Regions from separate parts of the Homo sapiens genome. Here all the other regions are linked to region 4. Evidence: promoter capture Hi-C in human tissues and cell types (Jung and others, 2019). All regions are on one chromosome and are shown on one strand. The core of a region is centred on a gene start or on the middle of the fragment in contact, and the rest is flanking DNA. Distances in the headings are between cores, read along the strand shown. Region 1 overlaps WDR4 (WDR4 tRNA N7-guanosine methyltransferase non-catalytic subunit). Region 2 overlaps NDUFV3 (NADH:ubiquinone oxidoreductase subunit V3). Region 3 overlaps UBASH3A (ubiquitin associated and SH3 domain containing A). Region 4 holds the start of PDE9A (phosphodiesterase 9A).

Region 1 (2,833 bases), core at 1-2,500, 210 kb after region 4:
CATCAGGACTCACAGCCTGCATCACCAGGGGCCAGAAAAGAAAAAGCCGCTCACCTGAGTCTTCCCGAATCAAGTCCCTCATGGAAGAAGGCAGGGAAGCTGCAGCCTGGCCGCCAAGAGGATGAGGCCTTCGAGGACAGACCAGCGTGGCTCCTCCCCTCCTCCCGTCCCTACGTCTAATTGGTGGCCCTCATTCTCCCTCCCCAGAGGGTCCCTGGCCACCTCTAGCCCTCACTCCTCAGTGCTAGAGCAGGCTTCTGGGGTGGGGCAGTGCCACCCCTGCCTGCCTGTCTCCCGCACCTTGGCAAATCCAGGCCCCACGCCCATTTCCACCCGCCACAGGCCTGCTGCACCCTCCTGCCCAACACTGGGTTGCCTTCCTTGCCTTCCTGTCACACATGTCCCCACACCCATCTGTCACCAAGTCCCAGTGAGGTTCCCTTTGATACCCCACACTCGCCATTGTTCCTGACTGTCCCTGTGTGCGTCCAATCCCAGCTCCACCACCCGGGCTGTGGGCCTGCGCCCTCTGGGGCTCCAGGTGTGTGTCTGTGACACACGGGGCACACAGAGTGGGGTGACAGGGGCTGCTGGGAGCAGTGCTGAGGTGATGCTCCTACAGCACCTGGCACAGCTCCCGGCCAAGGAGGCGGAGCCAGAGGCTCGTGGCTGCACCTGCTCCTCCCACACCTTCACTTCCAACCTGGGGCCACCTACTGACCACCTCCTGTCTCACTTGCCTTCTTCATTCTCCCTGCTGTCTGCTCCACCTTCCTAAATCCTGTTCCCACCACTCCCCTGCTCCCAAATCTGCAGAGGGCTGTCCCTGCTACGGGGGAGCCCCATTCTCCCCACCAAACGCTGGGGCACAGACCGGGCAGACGTTGATTCAGCCTGTACCCCACATACCATGTCCCCCACGTACTGCGTCTAACAGCATGGACAGGTGCCTGAGCCTTGACAGGGTAGACATTGACTCAGCGTATGCCCCACGTGCCACGTCCCCCATGTACCGTGTCCCACACCTGCCATGTCCCCCACCTACCACGTCCCCCACCTACCACATCTAACAGCATAGACAGGTGCCCCAGCTCTAGACGGCCACACCCGTGTGGCTCCAGCACCGAAAAGGAGTAGACGTCTCCAGACTTGTCGGCCACCAAGACCTTCTCCTCCGAGGCTATGAAAGTCAGGGCTGTACACCTCCTTGCCACGGTCCTAGAAGGCCAGAAAGACACCCCCATTAGCTTCCAGGAGCAGCGCAGGGTCCTCGACAGCCTGGCAGGCCACGTGGGCGGTGGCAGGCACCGGTACCTGGCCATATGCTCTGTTTTCCAGCTGCTGAAGGTGGTGCCAAAAAAATTAAGCAATGCTAACAACTGGAACAAAGCCAATGCCTTCGACAAATTTACTTTCACAACGTTTTTCTTTAAGAAAATTGCTCCTAGCCGGGCGCAGTGGCTCACACCTGTAATCCCAGCACTTTGGGAGGCCGAGGTGGGTGGATCACAAGGTCAGGAGATTGAGACCATTCTGGCTAACACGGTGAAAACCCCGTCTCTACTAAAAATACAAAAAATTAGCCAGGCGTGGTGGCGGGCGCCTGTAGTCCCAGCTACTCGGGAGGCTGAGGCGGGAGAATGGCGTGAACCCGGGAGGCGGAGCTTGCAGTGAGCCGAGATCCCGCCACCGCACTCCAGCCTGGGGCGACAGAGCGAGACTCCGTCTCAAAAAAAAAAAAAAAAAAAAAAAGAAAAGAATAGAAAATTGCTCCTGATGGTGGGATCTAGGTGGTGGATAAATGCGTGACAAAATCCTCAACTTTCCTGTGTGTTTGAAAACTGTCATCAAGAAATGGGGGAATGGTTCCTTAACCCCAGAGTCTTCATCATGCATTGAGGGAGACAACGGCCCTCTCCATAAACGCTGAGTGTGCTGGGGGCCACTGTCAAGGACAAAGGCAGGCACCAGTCTCCAGGGCCCCCCAGCCTTGCCGCTCCCCTGACCCACACTGACCCCTGCTGCTCGTTCTGCTGCGTCGAACCAGGAGCCTCAGACAGAGAGCCGTGCCCCATGCCCTGCAGAGGGATGGAGGGGCCTGGCCACCCTCAGGGCAGGACCCAGCCCAGGGCAGCAGTGAGGCAGCACCCTACCCTCCTCGGGAGGAAGCTCGGTTATCCAGCGTGTGAGAGGCCTGCGCTCCCCCCAGTCCACATCCACATCAGCACATCCATGAATCCAACCCCGACCCAGAGTCATGGATGCACCAGAGTTCCGGATGCAGCACGTTTGCACACTGCTTCAGCAAGAACCAAAGTCACAGTTCGCTCCCTCTCCTTCGCCAGGGCTCAGGGCTACACTACTTCCTGGGGCTCTCATTTCCACATCATTTCTACTGGAATCGTCCCGTATTTATGTCCTCTCCACAAGGCAGGGACCCATATGTTCTATTTTACATAGATATGAGTTGTAGCACAGCTTCCCACACACGCAGTTAGCCACAGGGCCTCACTACAGAACAGCAGCCAGCCCTGCTTCCCCACCCCCAGGGCTGTGGCAGCACACACTGCCCAATACGCAGCCAACACCAGGCAGACAAGTACAGGGCGCCCGGCCCACTGCGGCTGGAAATTGAGATGGAAGCTTCAGGAACGCTGTCCTCAATGAGGCCCCTATGTTTCTCTCAGGGGCAGAGGGACTAAAAGACAGAAAAGGGCAGGCAGGACCTTTGGGCCACACCCCAGGCTGGAAGCAGCATCCCTCCTCCTCCCTCACAGCTGTGCAGCAGAGCTGCAGAAGGGAGGCAGAAGGGAAGTATAACGGGGTAAACACA
Region 2 (2,750 bases), core at 113-2,612, 240 kb after region 4:
TTTTTTTTTTCCTGAGACAGTCTCACTCTGTTGTCCAGGCTGGAGTGCAGTGGCGTGATCTCAGCTCACTGCAACCTCCACCTCCTGAGTCTAAGCAATTCTCCTGCCTCAGCCTCTGCAGTACCTGGAACTACAGGCATGCACCACCGTGCCTGGCTAAATTTTTTTTTTTTTTTTTTTTTTTGCGACAGAGTCTTGCTCTGTCGCCCAGGCTAGAGTGCAGTGGCACGATCTTGGCTCACTGCAAGCTTCACCTCCTGGGTCCACGCCATTCTCCTGCCTCAGCCTCCCAAGTAGCTGGGACTACAGGCACCCGCCACCATGCCCGGCTAATTTTTTGTATTTTTAGTAGAGACGGGGTTTCACCGTGTTAGCCAGGATAGTCTCGATCTCCTGACCTCATGATCCACACGCCTCGGCCTCCCAAAGTGCTAGGATTACAGTCGCACCGCGCCCGGCCTTTTTTTTGTATTTTTAGTAGAGACGGGGTTGTCCAGGCTGGTCTCAGAACTCCTGACCTCAAGTGATCCGCCCACCTCAGCCTCCCAAAGTGCTGGGATTATAGGTGTAAGCCACCGCACCTGGCCAATCCCAGCACTTCAGGAGGCCGGGGCTTCAGGATCGCTTGAGGCCAGGAGTTTGAGGAAGCCAGGAGTTTGAGACCAACCTGGGCCACGTAGCCAGATCTCGTCTCTATAAAAAATAAAAAATATTAGCCAGGCATGGTAGTATGTGCCTGTAGTCCTGGCTATGTCAGAGTATCGCTTGGACCCAGGAGTTGAAGGCTGCAGTGAGCCATGATTGTGCCACTGCACTCCAGCCTGGACGACTGAGAGAGACCCCTGACTCAAAAAATATATATATATATTCATATATAGTACCAGCTATTATAATGGCATTACTCTAAACATCCATATTCATTAATTCTTTTGTCAGACTATGCTCCAGGAAGCCCAGGTGTTTCGAGGACTTGCTTCTACGGTTTCTTTGTCTGCGGAATCAGGGAAGAGTGAAAAGGGTCAGCCACAGAATTCCAAGAAGCAAAGTCCACCAAAAAGTAAGATTTTGATGGTAGTCATAAGGGAAAGAGAATGCAAAAAGAAAATAGATTAGTCAGCCTTCGAAGCACGACAGTGAGTTTTACTAGCTACGTAATTTATGCTTCTTCCTTTTCAGCAGTGTCCAGATTATACAAGACACAAGATCTATAACAGATTTTAGACCAAACATTTCAGTCATGTCGTAGTCTTTGACTGAATATTTAGCCCTGAAATGGTTTTTCCTGTATTTTCTAAATGCCAAACCCCAACCTGAAGTGAGTGATGCCTTGGTAAAGGCTCTGTGGCATTTAGATGGCCCCGGCACAGTGAGCTTGCCAGAAAGCCACCTTACTTTCCATCCTCTGATGCTGAGTTGTTTGTTTTGTTTTGTTTTGTTTTGTTTTGTTTTGTTTCAGTCTCTTTGAGACCCATCTGTGGTTTTCCAGGCTTTGCTTAATCCCAGTCCAGGACTAGCTGGGACTACAGGCATGTGCCACCACGTCTGGCTAATTTTTTGTATTTTTAGTAGAGACAGGGTTTCACAATGTTAGCCAGGATGGTCTCAATCTCCTGACCTTGTTATCCACCCGCCTCGGCCTCCCAAAGTGTTGGGATTACAGGCGTGAGCCACTGCGCCCGGCCTAAATCTTTAATTCTTTTTTTTGAGATGGAGTCCTGCTCTGTTGCCCCTGCTGGAGTGCAGTGGCGCAATCTCGGCTCACTACAACCTCCGCCTCCTGGGTTCACACCATTCTCCTGCCTCGGCCTCCTGAGTAGCTGGGACTACAGGCGCCCACCACCATGCCCAGCTAATTTTTTACATTTTTAGTAGAGGTGGGGTTTCACCATGTTAGCCGGGATGGTCTTGATCTCCTGACCTTGTGATCCGCCCGCCTTGGCCTCCCAGAGTGCTGGAATTACAGGCGTGAGCCACCGTGCCCAGTCCTAAATCTTTAATCATTATATGGGGTTGTAGAATAGTAATTGAGTTTGGTCTTATTTTCATCAATATACTATTTCCTCAGTTTGAATGTTTGAAAGTATTTAGATTCTTTTGTTTTCTTCCTCCTTGGTCTGTGCACAGAACACTGGTAAGTTTTTAAATATTTGTATTTATACAAAGAGAGTGCCAGCCCCTGACTGCCTCTCACAGTGTGTGGACTTGAGGCTTGGATTCCACGGGAATGTTATTTAGTTTTGTGCTATGACTCCTGCCTCGTTTTTCAATCATTGTTTTTTTCTCTTCTTCCTTTTATGTTATTTGTTTTAAGAGAGGGGCTCTGGCTCTCTCTCCCAGGCTGGAGTGCAGTGGCACAGTCATAGCTCACTACAGCCTCAAACTCCTGAGCTCAAGCAATCCTCCCACCTCAGCCTCCTGAGTAGCTGAGACTACAGGCACATACCACCACTCCTGGCATATCCCTGGCATGTTTTGTTGATGTTGTTGTTTATTTTTTGAAATAGAGTCTTGCTCTGTCACCCAGGCTGTAGTACAGAGGCACAATCATAGGTCACTGCAGCCTCGACCTTCCAAGCTCAAGTGATCCTCCCACCTCAGCCCCTGGAGTAGCCAGGACTACAGGTGCACACCATCACACCCTGGCTAATATTTTAATTTTCCATACAGATGAAGTCTCACTGTATTGCCTAGACTGGTCTTGAATTCCTGGGCTCAAGCAATCTCCCTGCCTCAAACTCCCATAGTATTGG
Region 3 (2,757 bases), core at 38-2,537, 220 kb before region 4:
AGTGACATCTAAAATAACATTTGACCCAATACCTGGGTACTGTGGAGAAGTACCCAGGTATTGGGTAGGGGGAGAGCCTGGAATGGAAGTCTCTGCTCGTAGCTCAGCCTGTGTCTAAACCGTGCTTTCAATGGCTGAAAACAGAACATGCATCTGCCTGTGAACTGGCCCCCCTCACACGGTCTTCTCTATAGGGATTTCACCCCTTCCCTACAGTAAGAAAAGACAACTGGCCACAGGTCTGGTAGAATCATGGCCCCAGAGATGATGCCCTAATCCCGGGAACTTGTGCATGTGACCTTATTAGGAAAGAGAGTTTCTGCAGATGGGATTGAGTGGAGGGTCTTGAAATGAGGAAATGATCCTGGGTCATCCAGGAGGGCCCTAAACCCCATCACAAGTGTGCTGATGAGAGAAAAGCAGAGGGGATCTGATACAGCAGCAGAGGAGGCCATGCAGCCAGAGAGGCAGAGACTGGAGCAATGTGGCCACAAGCCAAGGAACACCTGGGGCCACCAGGAGCTGGAAGAAGCAAAGAATAAATTCTCCCCTAGAATGTCAGAGGGAGCATGGCCCTGCCAACACCTTGACTTTGGACTTCCAGCCTCCAGAGCTGTGAGAGAATAAATGTCTCTTGCTTGGCACCGCCCAGCCTGTTATGGCAGCCCCAGGACACCAATGCAGCACCTTCTGTCTAGAGAATTGGTGCAGCCCTGCCTCATTCCATAGATCCCAGGGGTCAGTCCATTCCACTCCCCACAGGGCTTTCTTTTGCTTTATCATCATATTCCTGTGGCAAAGCTCCACAGAAGAACATTTAAAATGCTCTGAGCTCTTCCAGGAAGAAAATACCCCAAATCCAAAACTTCAGCCCGCAAGTTGAAAACTTCAGGGACTTTGTTACTAGGCAGAATGAGTTTCCAAGAGCATGCATGCTTTGCAATCTACTTGCAGATCAGCTCTCTACAGCTCTCTAGGATGTTTTAATATTCATTCTGGGATAGGGGCGGTGGGTGCTGCCTCTTGGTGTCAGTGTAGGCAACCTCTGCATAACCACACTTCACATGCAAGAGAGCAAGACAGCAAGACAAACCTTCCCCTGAAGCTGTTCCCCAGGAGATGCATGTTTCTATCCTGAAACAAACAACTGAAGTTTTCCAATAAGGGAAAGCAATACTATTCACTTGGCCTTACCGTATATCCGTTTTGAAGACTCAGCCCAGTGACCCTAAGAAAGTGTTTGCATGGTGACTGCAAACGTTCTCACTGGCTCACCAATCCCATAGTTTATGCACCTACCAAATGTAGCCAGGGCCACCGAGAACTGTCTGGTCCTGATAAATTTCAGCAGCTGGAAATTCTGCATCGTCCGGGCCAGCGTGGACTTCACAAGGGATCCACAGGATCTGGCAGGAGCTGCCCGTGGTGCTGACCCCGAGAATGCTTTCAAGGCAGGTGAAATTGGCCCCCACCCTACTTTCTGGTGTCCCTTCCTTCCCAGTAGTTTCCAATCACTTCCCTAGGTACAGGGACACCACGGGGGACCACTCTTGCCAGAGCGAGTGGCCAGTTAGTGCAGACCCTTGAGACTGGATCACTGTTCACAGAAGAAAGTCCAGACAGGAATGATCAGCTGCACTGGCCAGGTGGAAAATGAGTCCCTTCCTCCCTGAGGGTGTTTGGATGTTAAAGCCATTTGCATTTTCCTCTCTAGGATTTGGAGGGAATCAGGGCGATGCTGGGGCTGGTGTATGAGGGTTTATGCAGACAAGGCTTACCTCTCCTCACCTCTCTTCCTTACCCTGCTCAGTAGGAAAACACACACAAGAGCTGCCCTCTCATTTTAGCCCAGAGAGAGCTGTGTGGCCAAGAGGGAGCAGGGCAGGGATAGTGCCTGTCTGAGCTGCCTCCTGCCCAGGGGTCCTCCCTACCCCGTCCATCCCTGGTCGCCTGGGCTCCAGGCAGGATTTGGTCCCCAGAAGGCCCCACAGCCCACCTCCCGTGGCAGGCCGTGTTCGCTCTGCCCCCACCATCTCTGTTAATGACTCATCTTTCCATGTTCATCCCTTGGCCCAGGGAGACCTGCAGCTCCCTAAAGCAGGGATGCTGTGGACTGCAGCTTCATGGACCAGCATGTGACATGCTCCCCCCTGCGGTGCCATGTCACAGGGAGGTTGAGGCATGAGTCCTGGGTGCCAGAGGGCAGCACCACTGGGCCTGTGTTGCTGCAGGGTTCCCCACCTCTTGCTCTGAAATGGACCCCCCTGGATAGCCTGGGCCTGGCTCTGGGGCTGGGAATGTAGGTGAAGGGCCGATGTCAGCTGGCACATTAGTGCCCTCCAGGGAAGCAGCCGAGCCTGGTGTCTCCCTCCAGGGTCCTGGTGCAGGGCTTATGCTCCACGCAGCTGTCCTGGTGGCCTCTAGCTGGCTCGGCCCCTAGCACTCTGCTCTCTGGTCCCAGGGGGGGCATCCTCAGCTCTCATTCACTCTCTTCATCTCATTTGCTGTGGGTTCCTCTCAAGGCCAGTCCCTCAACTTGATCAGCCCTGCACAGCATGGGGAGAAGGGTGGCCTAGCCCCTGAGGACAGAGCCCCCCACAACACCATCCCACACAGTGGAGGCCCCTCCCAAAGGGTAGCCAGCCTCGCTGCCCCAAGCATGACCTTTGGGCTACTTCCCCAAAGCACAGGCTCCCCAGAAAGAGGGCGGGCGTGAGCCCTGTAACTGCAAGGCTCCAAGGCCATCCTGCGGCTGCC
Region 4 (2,803 bases), core at 304-2,803:
TAAGTGCCAAGCCAATGAGCCATCTGCTGGTAAGAACTCCATGCCAGGCAGCACAGGCGGTCCCAACAGCACGATCTCTGGATTAGCCCAAATAGCATCGGAACATTTGACAACAAATTGAACTACTAGTAATAGTGCTCACTTCAATGAGCCGGGGACACAGTATCCCCATGGCGAGTCAGCTGGCCCGCTGTAACCACCCAGCTGGGTCTCCCCACCCCAAAGGCCTCCAGGCTGTCCCCTTCTCATCCTGTCACTTGAAAAGCACAACTCATGGTGCCAAAGCTCTGACACGGACTCCACTGGAGCTGTGGGCAGGGGGTGCCAAGGTACCGAGTTCCAAGCCGTTGTTATTTGAGAGCGTGCCCCCCGCCATGAGAGCAGGTGGGGGGACATAAAGTGACACAGGATGGACTGGCCAAAGGCTGAGGACGATCACTTACCTCACAGGATGATGCCACCCCCACGGACAGGCAAGGAGCTCTCACCTTCCCCAGGACCCCAGCTGCCACCAGAGCTCCAGATGGCCCTGGGGGTGTCTGTAAAGCCTGTGACCGTCCACCAGGTGGAGACCAGGCTGGCCAGGGGAGGGAGAGGAAGTGACCACTGGCCCTGGCACTGGCTGGCCGGCTCCAGCAGGCCCGAAGGGGAGGGAGGAGCCTGGGTGCACCAGACTCTCTCAATAAGCAGCACCCAGACACTTAACAGATGGAAAGCGGTGGCTTGGAACTCACTTCCAACGAAACAATAGCACATGCTCCGGCTGGCTTTGACACTTGCTTCCAAAGGCGACCTGCACCCAGGGCCAGGACCACGGCATCTGAGCCTCCTCCCCCAGCCGCCAACCCCATTCCCAATGGAGGAGCCCAGGAGAACTGGGGGCGGCCAAGGCAGCCCTTCCCTGCTCCGCAGATCCAGAGGATGCCCACAGCCCCCTTCCCCTCCCGCCTTTCCCACACTCCCTGTAGCAATTCACACAAGCGGGGAGGGGACGAAACTGCTGAATCCAGCAGATAGCTTGTGGCGGGGTAATCCTCGGTCCGGCCCCATACAGGACAGAAATAAAATCGCCATTTCAGCTCCGGGCGCAGCTGGAGGAGGCTGACGCCCCCTAGTTAGGGGAAGGCTGTGGGTGACCGAGAAGGAACTTTTCCCGTTTTCTATTCAAATGAAATGAGGGTGGCGGTCGCAGCAGGGAGAGAGGAGCGAGGGGAGTTTTCCCGGCGGGGCTGGGGGGTCCACAGCGGCGCGGCCACGCTCAGCCCAGCGCTGGCTTAGGAGGGACGGGCTGCGTGGGGAGGCGACGGCTCCGGGCCGAAGGGGTCGCTCAGGGCTCTGCACAGCTGTCCAGGGGGCATCGGGAGATAGGCAGCCGACCGGGGGCTGGAGTCAAGGGAAGAAGAAAGAGGGGGAAGGGAGGTGCAGGGAGTGAAGAGGAGGGGAGAGAGGAGAGACGGGGGAGGGAGGGGGGAGGGGGGAGGGGGAGGGGCGGGCGGGCGGCCGGGAGGAGGAGCGCGCGAGCCGGAGTCGGAGCCCGAGCCCGAGCGCGAGCCGAGCGGAGGAGACCCTGCGGCGCGCGGCGGCGGCTCCCGGGCGTCCCGGGCCCGGTGGCGGCGCGGCTGTGGTTGGCTGAGCGCCGCGGGCCGCCCCCCGCCCGCCCCCTCCCCTGCTCCCCTCCCCCGCCTCCCGCGGCGGCTGGCGTCGGGAAAGTACAGTAAAAAGTCCGAGTGCAGCCGCCGGGCGCAGGATGGGATCCGGCTCCTCCAGCTACCGGCCCAAGGCCATCTACCTGGACATCGATGGACGCATTCAGAAGGTAGCCCCTCCCCCACCCAGACACCCCCTCCTCCCCCCGGGTGACAGCGCCGGGGCCGGGCGCGGCGGGGCGGGACTGTCCGTGCGTCTGCCGGTCCAGGCTGCGGCCTCCGTGCGCTCCGCCAGCTCTGGTCGGGGGCGGGGGTCCCCACGCGCCGGCTCCCCGGGGAAAGGGGCGACTCGCCCTGGGGGGTGGGGGGTGGGGGGGCGGGCTAGTGTTTCCGTTTCACAGGCAGAGCTTTTCTTTTTGAAAATCTGATTAGGCTGAGTTTTTACATTCAAGGGCTGGCACATGAAGCCTTTAATTTCCGGTGGATCGGCCCGCCGGGCAGCCCCGGGGTCGTGGTCCGCGGAGGGGGCGAGCAGCCGCCGCTTCCTGTCGCGCGGGGGCAGGTGCGGGGGGCGCCGGCGGGGACACTGCTCCCCCGCAGGTGAGTAGCTCCGACTGCAGAGGGGGACTCGGGCCGCTGCACCTCCGGGGCCCCGCGGAGAGCCTGGGGGGCAGCGGGTCCGGCTCTCCCCTGCTGTGCGGAGATAGGAAGTCCCTCGAATGTCCAGCGTTCCTAGCGGACTTGAGTTACACGGGAGAGGGGTTCAGAATAGACCCCCTTTGTTCGTGGCCCCCTCTGACGGGCAGGGAGGGACAATGAGCGCGCCGGCTTGGAAGGGGCTCTCATGAGCTCCCCCTAAAGTCCCCAGGGAAAAGCCATTGTGAGGAAATCCCTCAAACCTCAGCTGGGCGTTTCAGGAAGCCCTTGCAGCTGCTTCTCACCTTTCTGCCCACGGAGTACTCCACTGAAGGAGGCCAGGGAGAGATGCCCCAGCCAGGCACAGAGCAGGTGCCGGCCAGGCTTGAGTCTTTCCTGTTCCCAGAGGTGCATTTGGCCAGTTTAATCAGTAGATTTAAGCCAACAAGCCTCCCTCACCCTGTGCCCGGCTTGATCCCCGTGAAATGGAAAGTACAGCCCTCTCCCACCGTAGCCCGCTT

What was found. Contacts are between HindIII fragments. The study calls those that stand out against the background at their distance.
Region 1: a contact is called between a fragment that was not itself captured here and the fragment with the promoter of PDE9A in region 4, in 1 of the 25 tissues and cell types used here (spleen).
Region 2: a fragment that was not itself captured here is called in contact with the fragment with the promoter of PDE9A in region 4 in 1 of the 25 tissues and cell types used here (dorsolateral prefrontal cortex).
Region 3: a fragment that was not itself captured here is called in contact with the fragment with the promoter of PDE9A in region 4 in 1 of the 25 tissues and cell types used here (stomach).

Annotation. Positions count from the first base shown.
Region 1 is chr21:42,862,379-42,865,211 of GRCh38, forward strand. WDR4 (WDR4 tRNA N7-guanosine methyltransferase non-catalytic subunit) reads right to left here. Exons shown (of 11, transcript NM_018669.6): 4 at 1,062-1,218; 5 at 1-16. Among named protein-coding and RNA genes, the nearest start is that of WDR4, 16 kb to the right of the region's middle. The HindIII fragment of the contact is 4,099 bases long and covers 1-2,833 here.
Region 2 is chr21:42,895,991-42,898,740 of GRCh38, forward strand. It overlaps NDUFV3 (NADH:ubiquinone oxidoreductase subunit V3), which reads left to right. Exons shown (of 4, transcript NM_021075.4): 2 at 937-1,057. Among named protein-coding and RNA genes, the nearest start is that of NDUFV3, 4.1 kb to the left of the region's middle. The HindIII fragment of the contact is 5,741 bases long and covers 1-2,750 here.
Region 3 is chr21:42,428,647-42,431,403 of GRCh38, forward strand. The region is part of intron 8 of UBASH3A (ubiquitin associated and SH3 domain containing A); the gene reads left to right. Among named protein-coding and RNA genes, the nearest start is that of UBASH3A, 26 kb to the left of the region's middle. The HindIII fragment of the contact is 9,602 bases long and covers 1-2,757 here.
Region 4 is chr21:42,652,068-42,654,870 of GRCh38, forward strand. It overlaps PDE9A (phosphodiesterase 9A), which reads left to right and starts at 1,554. Exons shown (of 20, transcript NM_002606.3): 1 at 1,554-1,816. The coding sequence starts at 1,748. It overlaps LOC101928255 (a long non-coding RNA gene), which reads right to left and starts at 1,591. Exons shown (of 3, transcript XR_244322.4): 1 at 1-1,591. RefSeq lists an enhancer at 518-1,239. The HindIII fragment of the contact is 36,096 bases long and covers 1-2,803 here.